Linked DNA regions of Homo sapiens: region 2 is linked to region 1. The links are contacts of gene promoters, found by promoter capture Hi-C in blood cells and fetal thymus (Javierre and others, 2016). All regions are on one chromosome and are shown on one strand. Each heading gives the region's core, a stretch centred on a gene start or on the middle of the fragment in contact. The rest is flanking DNA. Distances are from core to core; before and after follow the strand shown. Region 1 holds the start of ANKRD42 (ankyrin repeat domain 42). Region 2 overlaps PRCP (prolylcarboxypeptidase).

The links. The method cuts DNA at HindIII sites, captures the fragments that hold promoters and counts their contacts. A CHiCAGO score of 5 or more calls a contact.
Region 2: a contact is called between a fragment that was not itself captured here and the fragment with the promoter of ANKRD42 in region 1, in 4 of 17 cell types (naive CD8 T cells, neutrophils, total B cells and 1 more). The highest score is 7.7, in naive CD8 T cells.

What each region holds. Positions count from the first base shown.
Region 1 is chr11:83,191,196-83,197,811 of GRCh38, reverse strand. It overlaps ANKRD42 (ankyrin repeat domain 42), which reads right to left and starts at 4,100. Exons shown (of 11, transcript NM_001300975.2): 1 at 3,084-4,100. The coding sequence starts at 3,141. It overlaps ANKRD42-DT (ANKRD42 divergent transcript), which reads left to right and starts at 4,143. Exons shown (of 3, transcript NR_149009.1): 1 at 4,143-4,345. RefSeq lists enhancers at 3,124-3,483, 4,004-4,113, 4,174-4,393 and a silencer at 3,691-3,869. The HindIII fragment of the contact is 14,061 bases long and covers 1-6,616 here.
Region 2 is chr11:82,877,796-82,884,411 of GRCh38, reverse strand. All of the region lies in intron 1 of PRCP (prolylcarboxypeptidase), which reads left to right. Among named protein-coding and RNA genes, the nearest start is that of PRCP, 19 kb to the left of the region's middle. The HindIII fragment of the contact is 5,939 bases long and covers 1-4,516 here.

The DNA.
Region 1 (6,616 bases), core at 2,851-5,350:
TGTCTTACACTAAGAAAGGAATGGCAGGCCACGATTTTTAATTCACATACTCTTAGTGCTTCATATTTTATAATTTAATTAATAAGCATTGTGAACCAGAGGCAATAAAGGTATCTAAGCACGAACAGATAACTATTAGAGAAGAATGAAGGAGTAAGCAGTTCAACTTCAGCATTCTCTAAATAAAACAGGCATGATTCCTGACCTGAAGTTGTTTTGAAAACAGCTCACCAACACATCTGGCAAATGATCTGTGCAACCTTGTACTACTATTTATCTATGTACATGTCCTCTCTCCACAATCAGAATGTTAATTTCTTAAGGGCAAAAATAATATTTTACACTGGAATTATATCTTACTTTTATTACATCTTTTTATATACTCTAATTATATCTTTGCTCTTAGCAAACTGCTATAACTGTACTCAAAAAGCCTTTCTGAACATCTACCATGAGTCAGGCACTATGATAACATGATAGAAAATGGACATGGATTTAATACATTTTTTTTCCGCCAACACATTAAAATCTATTTGGATAAATACATAATGAAAACAAAAACCTGACAGCAATGTCCTCAGAGAGTACAGGTAAAATTAAGGAGAAACAAAACAAGTCACAGAGGAGGAGGAAACATTCAAGCAAGACCTTGAAGAACAATTAAGATATATGGCAAATGGGAACGAGAGCATCTGTAAGGTGTGCACATGTACACATACACACACACACACCTTTAATAAACGTTCAGTGATGTTAATCCCTAGGCCGGACCTTCATTCTTCTTTAAACTAGCACAGCCAGACCTACAAATGATGTTCTATCCACTCTACTTATTTTACACAGAGACACTCCTCTAATCCATCTTACACAGACCAACTATCCTAATCACTTCATGCCCCTACTCTAAACTGCCACTGGTTGGTCACTGCTACTCTACAAAACAAAACCCAAACTCTCAGTATGACCTCTATGGCCTCCCATAATTTGGCTCCATCTAATTTTATGGTCTTTTTTCTCACTACATTCCATCCCGATTTATTCACTCATCCACTCATCCATCTACTCAACGTAAGTCTGGTGTCTACCATAAGGATAAAAAGATGAAGACACCCTCAAGGAACTCACAGATTAGTAGAGAAGATACAAACACAAAATACAAAATAATGTGGTAAAAGCAACGATGGAAATATTCATAGGAACCTGTGGAAGCACAGATGACTTCAAACTCAGCCAGGGTAGGAGGGAAGGGGAACACAGAAGGATTCCTGGGGAAAGTTACATCTAAGATAGAATCTTCAAGGATTAACAGGAGTTTGCCAAGGCAAGTAGGAGCAGTGAGTAGGCCTAAACAGCATGAACAGTAGGACATGGTCAAGAAACCACACACACACACACACACACACACACACACACTCTCACACACTCACACACAAATCCTACTACTAAAGTATTAAGGGGATAAATAGGCTAGAACTAGACAAGAAACAGACAATGGTGAAACTTATTTTTAAAAACTTGGACTTGAGCAGACAGTGGAGAATCACTGAGGAATTTTAAACAGAAGAATTATAATGATTGAGAGCTGTAAGGCTGAGTTTACAAGGCTAAATTCAGGGAAGAGAATTTACTGAATGGGGAGCAAAAAGGCAAGACTAAAGAGTAGGTTGATTGGCCGGGCGCGGTGGCTCACGCCTGTAATCCCAGGACTTTGGGAGGCCGAGGTGGGCAGATCATGAGGTCAGGAGGAGACCATCATGGCTAACACAGTGAAACTCCGTTTCTACTAAAAATACAAAAAATTAGCCGGGTGTGGTGGTGGGCCCCTGTTGCCCTAGCTACTCGGGAGGCTGACGCAGAAGAATGGTGTGAACCTGGAAGGCGGAGATTGCAGTGAGCTGAGGACCGCGCCACTGCACTCCAGCATGGGGGACAGAGCAAGACTCCGTCTCCAAAAAAAAAAAAAAAAGAGAGAGAGAGAGAGTAGGTAGATCATGTAAGAATACAGTTTACAATAGTCTAGACCAGAAAAAATGAGACTCTGAACACTGGGAAAAGAAAAGGAGAAAGATTCAACAAATATTAATAAAATTAGAATGAACTAAACTGGAATGGATACAGTGGGTGAAACAAGGGAAAAGTAATAAGATAACTCCAAGGTGTGTGGCTTTATCATCTGAGTGCTGTGGTGCCATTAGTTGAGACAGCAAACACTGAAGGACAGAGAGGATATATAGATATAAAATTACATTTTGGACATGCTGCTCTTGAGGTACCCAAGGAAAATTTCCAGAAGGGAGATATCTATATATATGTTTGCAGCTCCGAGGAGAGATACGGAATTCAGGTCTCAGTGTTACGTGTGTCTCTGTATTAGAATGCTTTTTCTGACACCCATACTCACCCCCTACTGGAATCAGTGGCATTCTACCGTCCTTTATAACACTGATCTCACTTGTCATTATTTGCTCAGCATTTATCTTCCTCACTAGAAGGTAAAGAATGTGCCTGTCTTCTTAAGTTCCTTAAGACGGAGCACAAAGTAGGCATATGCAGTAAATATTTACTGGATGGTTGAATGAGTAACCGATTTGAGGGCCACCAGTAGGACTGAAGTCACAGTAAATGACAAGAAAAAGAGAACCAATGATGGCATCATCAAGGGGTAAAAGCTGCATTTAAGAAGATGGCAGAAGAAAAGAAAACGGTAAGGGAAAGGGTCACTCAATGGAGTGAAAGAAGAAAACTAAGTAAGTACTAATTTGTCACCTCCACAGGGTCAAATGCTGCAGGGAAGTCAAGGAAGAACTTAAAAGGGTCCGTCCATTAAGACTGAACAAGAGTTGATGTCAAGCTGGGCAAGAAGACTCGGAGGAATAGTGTGGATGGAAAAAAGGAAAGAAAGCGGAAATAATACAGAACAGGGGAGAGCTGAACAGCTTTGGTATCCCCTGAAAATAAATTAAAAAGGGAAAGGGGGGAGTGACGGCTGAGAAAAGGAAATGCCAGAAAGGGCTAAGGCTGTTGCGGGCTTAAGTGAGAAAAGGAATACGACAGAGATGAAGGCCAATGACAGTCTGACTCACAGGGGTTTGCAGTCTCCCTAGAGGAAGTGGAGGGGCCTGAATTGGCCACCCCGGGCATGGCGCAACACCTCCGACTCTGGGGAGGAGTTGAGTCCAGGCCCCTGATGCTGCGGCGGTCTTCACTTGCTCTCACCCACGAGCCACTGCAGCGGCAGCGGCCCTCTTCTCCGTCGTCACTAGGACGGGGCCCAAGGTCCTCTCTTGCTCTCTCCCAGAAGCTGCAGCGGAAACCTTCGTCTTCACTTTCTCTCTCCCAAAAGCCACTGAAGCGGTAGCTGGCGTCTTCACTGCCGCTCACACCAGAGGAGTCGCTGGCTGCGTAGCCGCGGTCTCCACTTACTTCCTCCCAAGAACTACCAACGCTGTGGCCGCCTTCGACACTCCCTCCCTCCCAGGAGCCACTGAAGCGGCGACTGCGATCGTCACTGACTCTATCCCCGAAGTCACTAGTTCGCGGGTCCCGAATGTCACTGACTCCCTCCCAAGGACCACTGAGGCGGAGGCCTCGGTCTTCTCTGGCTGTTCCCCTGGAGTCGGTAGTTTGGTGGCCTCCAACTTCACTAAAATTCACGTCGCTGCTGCAGAAGGTGCTGTCTCCCCTAACTCTCTCCCAAGAGCAGCTGTGACTGTGGCCACTATCTCCCCTAACTCTCTCCCTAGAGACGCTGCGGCAGTGGCCGAGGTTTTCACTGACCCTTCTCAAGTCACTGCGGGAGAAGCCGGCGTCTGCACTTAGGCTTCCTGCAGCGACCCTGGAGCGGCGGTCGCTCTCTTCACATTTTCTTTCCCCGTCGTCGCTAACTCTTTCCCTAGACTCGGCGCCGGAATGGCCGTGTAGACCGTTTATCCTCCACACGTGGTGGCTAGTGCGGCGGCCACCGTCTTCGTCTGCTACTCCCTGCGAATCGCCGTAGCGGCGGCCGCCTTCCGCTGGTACTTTCTCGGAGTCTCTTTCCAGCCTCCCGACTCCAGCCACTTGGCTGGAGAGGCAGCAGGGCCGTCGCCTTGGAAACGAGTACACTTCCGACGTGCTGAGGTCATTTCCCGTTCCTCACGGCCCACGCTACTTCCGGTTTCCTTTCCCTCAGCTATTCCATGGCTTTTCGTGTGGACAAATCGGGAGGTGGTGTAAACTGGTTTTTGGTGAAATTCGGCTCGGCCTCATGCGAACCTATCTAGGTCCGTCTCTGGAGTGGCCTGTCATCGATCGCGCCCTCCATCGCTGAGCGACACAAGTGGAACCCCCCAGGACTGCATTCTGCGTAGGTGACCTGTGTGGCGCGGGCCGGGCGGGGCCTTTTTGTCCTTGGGCAAACGTGGTATACTTTCTCAGTGGTGGTTGGAAGGAAATTTGTTGCCCTGTCATTTCGCAAGTATGGAAAAAGACCTAAAGGAGAATTTAGCAGCTGCAGCCGCTGTTTTTATTGCGTACTTTACTAGCGCCAACTCTTTAATAATCGCTTGTTAGTTGTTACCCCTGTTTTATGGGTCAAGAGACTCAATATATCAGTACTTTGGTAAGGCCAGGCAGCAGGTAAGTTGTAAAACCAGTAAAAAAACACAGGTCATTAGTCAAAAGAGTGCTTCAGGTCTCCTGACTCCAAATCCGAGAATCCTTTCACTGTAGCATGTTTACTGCTCAAATATTTCTACAACCCTATTGCTTAACAACAGGAATGAATTATTTCACCATTTGTTGCAAACGTATGGGTCACGTTTTGTGCCAGCAGCAGAAAATACAGAAATTAGTAAGAATTACCTGCCCTCCAGGGGCATCACCAACCTGGATTCCCCTCTCGGCCCAGTTTTTCCACCCTTATTGCCTTCTCCCTTCAGGAATAATGAACTCGTCCTGGAAGCGTACCTTACTTTTTAATATCTCTGCCTTGTCATGTGCTGTTCGTCTTACCAGGAAACTACCCTGCTTTTCCCCCAGTTTTGGTCTGTGAACACATTTGGGAAATTCTTCTGATCCTACCGCTACTCTCTTGAGGTACAGTAAATTGTCTTTGACTTCCATCACCTTTTGTAATATTACAATTGCCATCTACTGAGTTCCTATGATCTGCCTGGCATTGTACTAAGTGCTTTATATTTTCTTGTTCATTTTTTTATGCCAACATAAATGAGTTTGACTCAATTCTTATTATAACCTGCCAAAATAAGTATTCCTCTTCCTTTTTACAGAGAGAGAAACAAGGGAAAAAAAAGTTAATTGCCTGAGGATATACTGCTAGTGTTGCGGGACAAATAGAGACGGGAGAGGCCAAACAGAATTCAGGACAACCCTTTATTATTAAGGTGATCACTGGCTCAGTCGGACTGGGGTCCAGAAAGTCTGAGCCCGGAACAAAGGGATCAATCACCTTTTAAGCAATTTGTGGCGGGAGTTTGGTGCTACAGGAAGCCTACTTGCAGAAGCAAGAACAAAGGCAGTTAATTATTCTTTTACATTTGTTACACCACATGTCTTACATCCTTGGGAATGCATGCTTTTGTAGCAATTGCTTATCAACCTTGTGACTTTACAGCGCGCTAGGGAGGGAAGCAGGAACTCGTGGTGCCTCAAGGAACGTGAAACGGTGGAACACAGATAAGCCTCTCCGTGCGTAGAGGAGAAATAAGCGGTTAATATTCTCTCTTAACCCAGGCCTCCGGAGGGTGGGGGGCTATATTTCATTCTACCTCTAAGGAAAAGAATAAACTTCTTGACTAATATACTTATAAAATTCATTAATTCCCCCTTCACTAGTAAATAATAAATACCTGACTTAGGATTCCAAAATAGGTCTTGAATTTTTCTGCAGGAGCTCCTCAAAGTCTCTGAATTCCCACAACCTTTTATTAGATCACTTATCCCATTGTATTATAATTATCTGTTTAACAATTTTTCCTCACCCCTAAAGGACCCTGAGCTTCTGGAAGGTAGGGACTGTATCTTAAAATCTTGGCATTTCTGATGTCTAGAATATTTCATTTAAGAGAAGGGCTTAGTAACTGTTGTGTGGGTGGGTTGATGAGTTAACTGTCAGGCAGGTGAACTAATAGGCTGAAGATAAAGTTTTTCACTGTTGGAAGTGAATTTGGGATTAGTCATCCTAATCCCCTCACTTTTAGAGATGGGGCAACTGAGTCATGCGCGGTGGCTCACGCCTGTAATTCTAGCACTTTGGGAGGCCAAGGTGAGCGGATCACCTGAAGTCAGGGATTTGAGACCAGCCTGGCCAACATGGCGAAACCCCATCTCTACTAAAAATACAAAAATTAGCCAGGCATGGTAGCAGGAGCCTGTAATCCCAGCTGTTCGGGAGGCTGAGGCAGGAGAATCACTTGAACCTGGGAGGCGGAGGTTGCAGTGAGTTGAGATCGCGCAATTGCGCTCCAGCCTGGGCGACAAGAGCAAAACTCCACCTCAAAGAAAAAACAAAACAAGACATGGGGCAGCTGAGGCCTTTTGTATACCAGGCATTTATCGAGTTATTCATGTGGGCCAGTTTCTGTGATAAATGATTTGCAAATAATACCCAACTTAA
Region 2 (6,616 bases), core at 298-2,797, 310 kb after region 1:
AATTTTTGTATTTTTTTGTAGAGATGGGGTTTCTACAGGTTGCCCAGGTTGGTCTCGAATTCCTGGGCTCAAGTGATCCTCCTACTCAGCCTCCCAAAGTTCTGGGATTACAGGCCTGAACCACTGTGCCCAGCACAAATGATATTTTTGATAAGTTTTCCTGATGGCATATGACCAGCATGTTTGGCCAGCATCATTGTGATTGAATAATCTAATTTAAACCAGGAACTACAACCCAAACAATGGCTGTGATTCAGCAGATAGGAAAGTAAGGAAGTACTTGTTATCATTTGTCAGTGAATTTATATTTTTATGCAGCTTGAACTGTGGGTCACACTGCAGACACTGTCCTTTAAAACTGTCGGAAATCTCTGCCTCTTCCTGAGCACTGATGGCCTCTTCCTTTGAGGGAGCAGCTCATACAACAATTTTGGAAAGCAGCGGTGATGACTCTCTTCTCCTTGGCGTTGAGTGTTTCCTTCCTCTTGAACAATTGGCTCTAGATGACAGTGACCAGTGCAGACTAAAACAGGCTGTGGTTTGCCTTTTTATGTAGTCTAATTTCTAAAAAAACAACAACCCTTTAAAAGAGATGGGAATTTACACTTACCAACCACCCTTCTGTGATTTCATTAAGCAACCTTGGGTCACACTCATCTGTGCATCTGAGAGGCCTGCAGCAGCACCAAGTCTCATCTTTGCTTACACACATCTAACAAGTGCAGTCAACACTAATTGATGTTGTGAATTTATTTTTACGTGCTTTATTTTTAAATTCCAAACTGACTGACCCCTGCCTTCCGGGATATCTTGAATGCCCATCCCTTGCTTAGCTAGTGTAGGCTTAGACAATGCAAATATATTTTAGGATCAACCTTTAAAAACATAATCAGAGAAATAAATCTGCCAGAAAAACTCTAATATTTATTATTTATTGTTATTTATTATTGACACTGTGTGCCAGACATTACACATTTTTCATTTCATTATTTTGTACACAGTATATTGGGTTGTGGCTTACATAGTGCTGCTGTCTATCAGCTTGGAATGGTTTGTCTTCCTCCTTTCTCTCCCTAGCAAACTCCTGTTCATCTTTCACTGCTCAGGTCTTGTATCACCTCTTGTTAGGAACTGCTTTGCCTCCCTGCCATGGGCTGGGTAACTGACTACTATCCTCTTTGTGCCTCTTATTGCACTTTATAGCTACTTCGATGCTGCTACTCTGGATCGCATTGCTTTATTTATTTATATGTTGGTATCCTGTTAGACTGTGAGCAGCCTGAGTGCTAGGACTCCACCCATCAGTGTATCTCAGTGTGTGCCTTCATCAGCTCTTCAGACAAATAACTGGCTCAAGCTGAAGTTATTCTTCTACCATTAGTACTTGGTTTTGTCAACAGTCTGCCAGTATTGTACTACCAATATGGCATAGACACTGGCCAGTGGGAACAGAAGCTAGTCATGGAGTTGAGGCCTTTTGAAGTATCATCGTTCTTTAGGTCTGGAGATCTAAAAAAGGGTCTGTGGCAGTAGGGCTGTGTGTGTGTGTGTGTGTGTTGCACAGGTAGTTTTTCTCCAACTCATATGGAAATATTTCAGTATTTTAAGAACTGGCTCGGCCGGGCGCGGTGGCTCACGCCTGTAATCCCAGCACTTTGGGAGGCCGAGGCGGGCGGATCACGAGGTCAGGAGATCGAGACCATCCCGGCTAAAACGGTGAAACCCCGTCTCTACTAAAAATACAAAAAATTAGCCGGGCGTAGTGGCGGGCGCCTGTAGTCCCAGCTACTTGGGAGGCTGAGGCAGGAGAATGGCGTGAACCCGGGAGGCGGAGCTTGCAGTGAGCCGAGATTGCGCCACTGCACTCCAGCCTGGGCGACAGAGCGAGACTCCGTCTCAAAAAAAAAAAAAAAAAAAGAACTGGCTCAGTATCAGCTTTGGTCCTCCCAGGTAGTGAGTGCCTACAGAATGGGATTCTGTCTGTACTGCTTAGTGTCCCTAATATGGATATCTCAGCACAACTCAGGTGTCCAAAACAGGTTTAACTTCTATAGCAAATGTTAATGTTATTACATAACACTTCTTTTTAAAACTTCTCTGAATTTTTCACATTACTATGAATACTACTGCAGTTGACCCTAGAACAACATGGGTTTGAACTGCACGTGTCCACTTATAAACGTTTTTTTTCAATACATCTCTTCTGTCTCCCCTTTCACCTCCTCCACTTCTTCTGCCTCTGCCACCCCTGAGACAGCAAGACCAACCCCTCCTCTTTCTCCTCCTCCTGTTCAGCCTTCTCAAAGTGAAGATGAGGATAAAGACCTTTGTGATGATCCACTTTCACTTAATGAATAATAAATATATTTTCTCTTCCTTAAGATTTACTTAATAACATTTTTACCTAGCTTATTTTATTGTAGGAGTACAGAATATAATACATATACAAAATATGTGTTAATTGACTTTATGTTATCAGTAAGGCTTCTGGTCAATAGTATGTTCTATTAAGTTTTTGGGAGTCAAAGGTTATAGGCAGATTTTTGACCATTTGTGGGTTGTGGAGGGTGGGTTGGTGCCCCTAATCACCCTGTTGTTCAAGGGTCAGTTGCACTCTCCTGTTCACATGGGATAGAAAACTTTGGAATTTTCTGATTCTCTCACCTTCACATCCAAACCAAAATCCAGTCAATCACCAAGACATTTCCAAGATTCCATCCTCGTTTCTGCCCCTTCTTTGCTTTCCCAGGGTTACCAGTTTGTACCATATAATTCCAGGCTAACTTATTATAATACCCCCTTCAGTCCCTCTGTTCTTTTAGATTCAGCCCAGGCCAGCTGGCACCATGTTTTTTTTCTCCTCTCCTTTTGTCCAATCCAGGCTTTATAGGGCCCTGCTTAAACCCCACATCTTCAGAGAAACCTTCCCCGCTGACTCAGCCCAGCGGGGGCTGTCCTACCCCCAGGTGCCCTAGTCCTTACTGTCTGTAGCATTTGGATGTTACCTGTGCTCTACTTTGTGAGGCTGCCTGAACTGTAATTACATCTTCAGATGACGTTGAACGGGTGGTTGTCCCTCAAGTAGAGAGCACACACAGCCATTAAGTGAGAATTAATACACTCACCGGGGCATAATGGTTCAGGTCACTTAGATTTTTAAGATTTCTTAATAGAAATAATTTCAAATTCTGTAACTTGGTTGCTGAATAGCATGAAATTTTGTTAAAGAAAAACACTATGACCCACTAAATGAATTCCTAACCTACAAATGGATCACAACCTCCATTTTATATAACCCTGATCTAGACCACAAAGGCCTTAAAAAGAAGAATGTTTCTCTCATAATGGAAAGGTAAGACCTGGAAGCAAAAGCCTTTACTATGAGTATAAAGTGTTGCAAGAGAGGCATAAAGCATGCAAGTCTAGAAGAGGGAAAATTGCACAGTGAAAATGACTTCCTATTGTAGGAAGATGATTCTGTTTGTGGGAGCAGGCACTTGGCAGTGGCTTAGCAGTTTATAGGTTTTCCCTTGAAAATTAAGTCCTTCCTTGCAGAGGGTTTTTTTTTTTTTTTTCCTCCATAAGGGCAGATGGGAAAAACACACATTTCCTCCTCTCTAGTTTTCTTTAGGCTTTTATTTATTCACCATTTTGTTTTCCTTCTCAATATTTTTGCTCTTGCATAATAGCAGGGCTTGTTGAGCTTTTCTGATTTGGACTGTGTTTCTAAACACTAAAATGAGCAAAGTGAGGAGGTTCCAAGATGGCCGAATAGGAACAGCTCCAGTCTACAGCTCCCAGCATGAATGATGCAGAAGATGGGTGATTTCTGCATTTCCAACTGAGGTACTGGGTTCTTCTCACTGGAGCTTGTCAGACAGTGGTTGCAGCCCATGGAGCAGGGCAGGCCATTGCCTCACCTGGGAAGTGCAAGGGGTCAGGGAATTCCCTTTCCTAGCCAAGGAAAGCCATGACAGACGGTACCTGGAAAATTGGGACACTCCCACCCTAATACTGTGCTTTTCCAATGGTCTTAGCAAATGGCACACCAGGAGATTATATCCTGTGCCTGGCTCAGAGGGTCCCACACCCACAGAGCCTCGCTCACTGCTAGCACAGCAGTCTGAGATCCAACTGCAAGGTGGCAAAGAGGCTGGGGGAGGGGCATCTGCCATTGCTGAGGCTTGAGTAGGTAAACAAAGTGGCCGGGAAGCTCGAACTGGGTGGAGCCCACTGCAGCTCAAGGAGGCCTGCCTGCCTGCCTCTGTAGACTCCACCTCTGGGGGCAGGGCATAGCTGAACAAAAGGCAGCAGAAACTTCTGCAGACTTAATTGTTCCCTGTCTGACAGCTTTGAAGAGAGTAGTGGTTCTCCCAGCATGGAGTTTGAGATCTGAGAATGGACAGACTGCCTCCTTAAGTGGGTCCCTGACCCCTGAGTAGCCTAACTGGGAGACACTTCCCAGTAAGGGTCGACTGACATCTCATACAACTGGGTGCCCCTCTGAGACAAAGCTTCCAGAGGAAGGATCAGGCAGCAACATTTGCCATTCTGCAATATTTGCTGTTTTGCAGCCTCCGCTGGTGATACCAGGCAAACAGGGTCTGGAAGGGACCTCCAGCAAACTCCAGCAGACCTGCAGCTGAGGATCCCGACTGTTAGAAGGAAAACTAACAAACAGAAAGGACATCCACACCAAAACCCCATCTGTACGTCACCATCATCAAAGACCAAAGGTAGATAAAACCACAAAGATGGGGAGAAACCAGAGCAGAAAAGCTGAAAATTCTAAAAATCAGAGTGCCTCTTCTCCTCCAAAGGAATGCAGCTCCTCACCAGCAACAGAACAAAGTTGGATGGAGAATGATTTTGATGAGTTGAGAGAAGAAGGCTTCAGATGATTGGCAATAACAAACTTCTCTGAGCTAAAGGAGGATGTTTGAACCCATCGCAAAGAAGCTAACAACCTGGAAAAAAGATTAGACGAATGGCTAACTAGAATAAACAGCATAGAGAAGACCTTAAATGACGTGATGGAGCTGAAAACCATGGCACGAGAACTACGTGATGCATGCACAAGCTTCAGCAGCTGATTCAATCAAGTGGAAGAAAGGGTATCAGTGATTGAAGATCAAATGAATGAAATGAAGTGAGAAGTTTAGAGAAAAAAGAGTAAAAAGAAACAAACAAAGCCTTCAAGAAATATGGGACTATGTGAAAAGACCAAATCTATGTCTGATTGGTGTACCTGAAAGTGACGGGGAGAATGGAACCAAGTTGGAAAACACTCTGCAGGATATTATCCAGGAGAACTTCCCAAACCTAGCAAGGCAGGCCAACATTCAAATTCAGGAAATACAGAGAACACCACAAAGATACTCCTCGAGAAGAGCAACTCCAAGACACATAATTGTCAGATTCACCAAAGTTGAAATGAAGGAAAAAATATTAAGGGTAGCCGGAGAGAAAGGTTGGGTAACCCATAAAGGGAGGCCCATCAGACTAACAGTGGATCTCTTGGCAGAAACTCTACAAGAGTGGGGGCCAACACTCAACCTTCTTAAAGAAAAGAATTTTCAACCCAGAATTTCATATCCAGCCAAACTAAACTTCATAAGTGAAGGAGAAATAAAATCCTTTATAGACAAGCAAATGCTGAGAGATTTTGTCACCACCAGGCCTGCCCTACAAGCGTTCCTGAAGGAAGCACTAAACTTGGAAAGGAACAACCGGTACTAGCCACTGCAAAAACATGCTGAATTATAAAGACCCTCAGTGCTAGGAAGAAACTGCATCAACTAATGAGCAAAATAACCAGCTAACATCATAATGACAATGGGGAAGAAGCAAAAGTGGAAACCCTGATAAACCCATCAGATCTCATGAGACTTATTCACTATCATGAGAATAGCATGGGAACGACCCCCATGATTCAATTACCTCCCCATTTGTCCCTCCCACAACATGTAGGAATTCTGGGAGATACAATTCAAGTTGAGATTTGGGTGGGGACACAGCCAAACCATATCATACCACTCCTGGCCCCACCAAATTTCATGTCCTCACATTTCAAAACCAATCATGCCTTCCTAGCAATCCCCCAAAGTCTTAACTCATTTCAGCATTAACCCAAAAGTCCACAGTCCAAAGTCTCACCTGAGACAAGGCAAGTCCCTTCTGCTTATGAGCCTAGAAAATCAAAAGCAAGTTAGTTACTTCCTAGATACAATGTGGGTACAGGTATTGGGTAAATACAGCCATTCCAAATGGGAGAGATTGGCCAAAACAAAGGGGTTACAGGCCCCATGCAAGTCCGAAATCCAGTGGGCAGTCAAATTTTAAAGCTCCAGAATGATCTCCTTTGACTCCAGGTCTCACATCCAGGTCACACTGATGCAAGAGGTGGGTTCCCATGGTCTTGGGCAGCTCCACCCCTGTGGCTTTGCAGGGTACAGCCTCCCTCTCAGTTGCTTTCACTGGCTGGCATTGAGTGTCTGTGGCTTTTCCAGGCTCACGGTACAAGCTGTCAGTGGGTCTACCATTCTGGGATCTGGAGGATGGTGGCCCTCTTCTCATAGCTCCACTAGGCATTGCCCCAGTAGAGACTCTGTGTGGG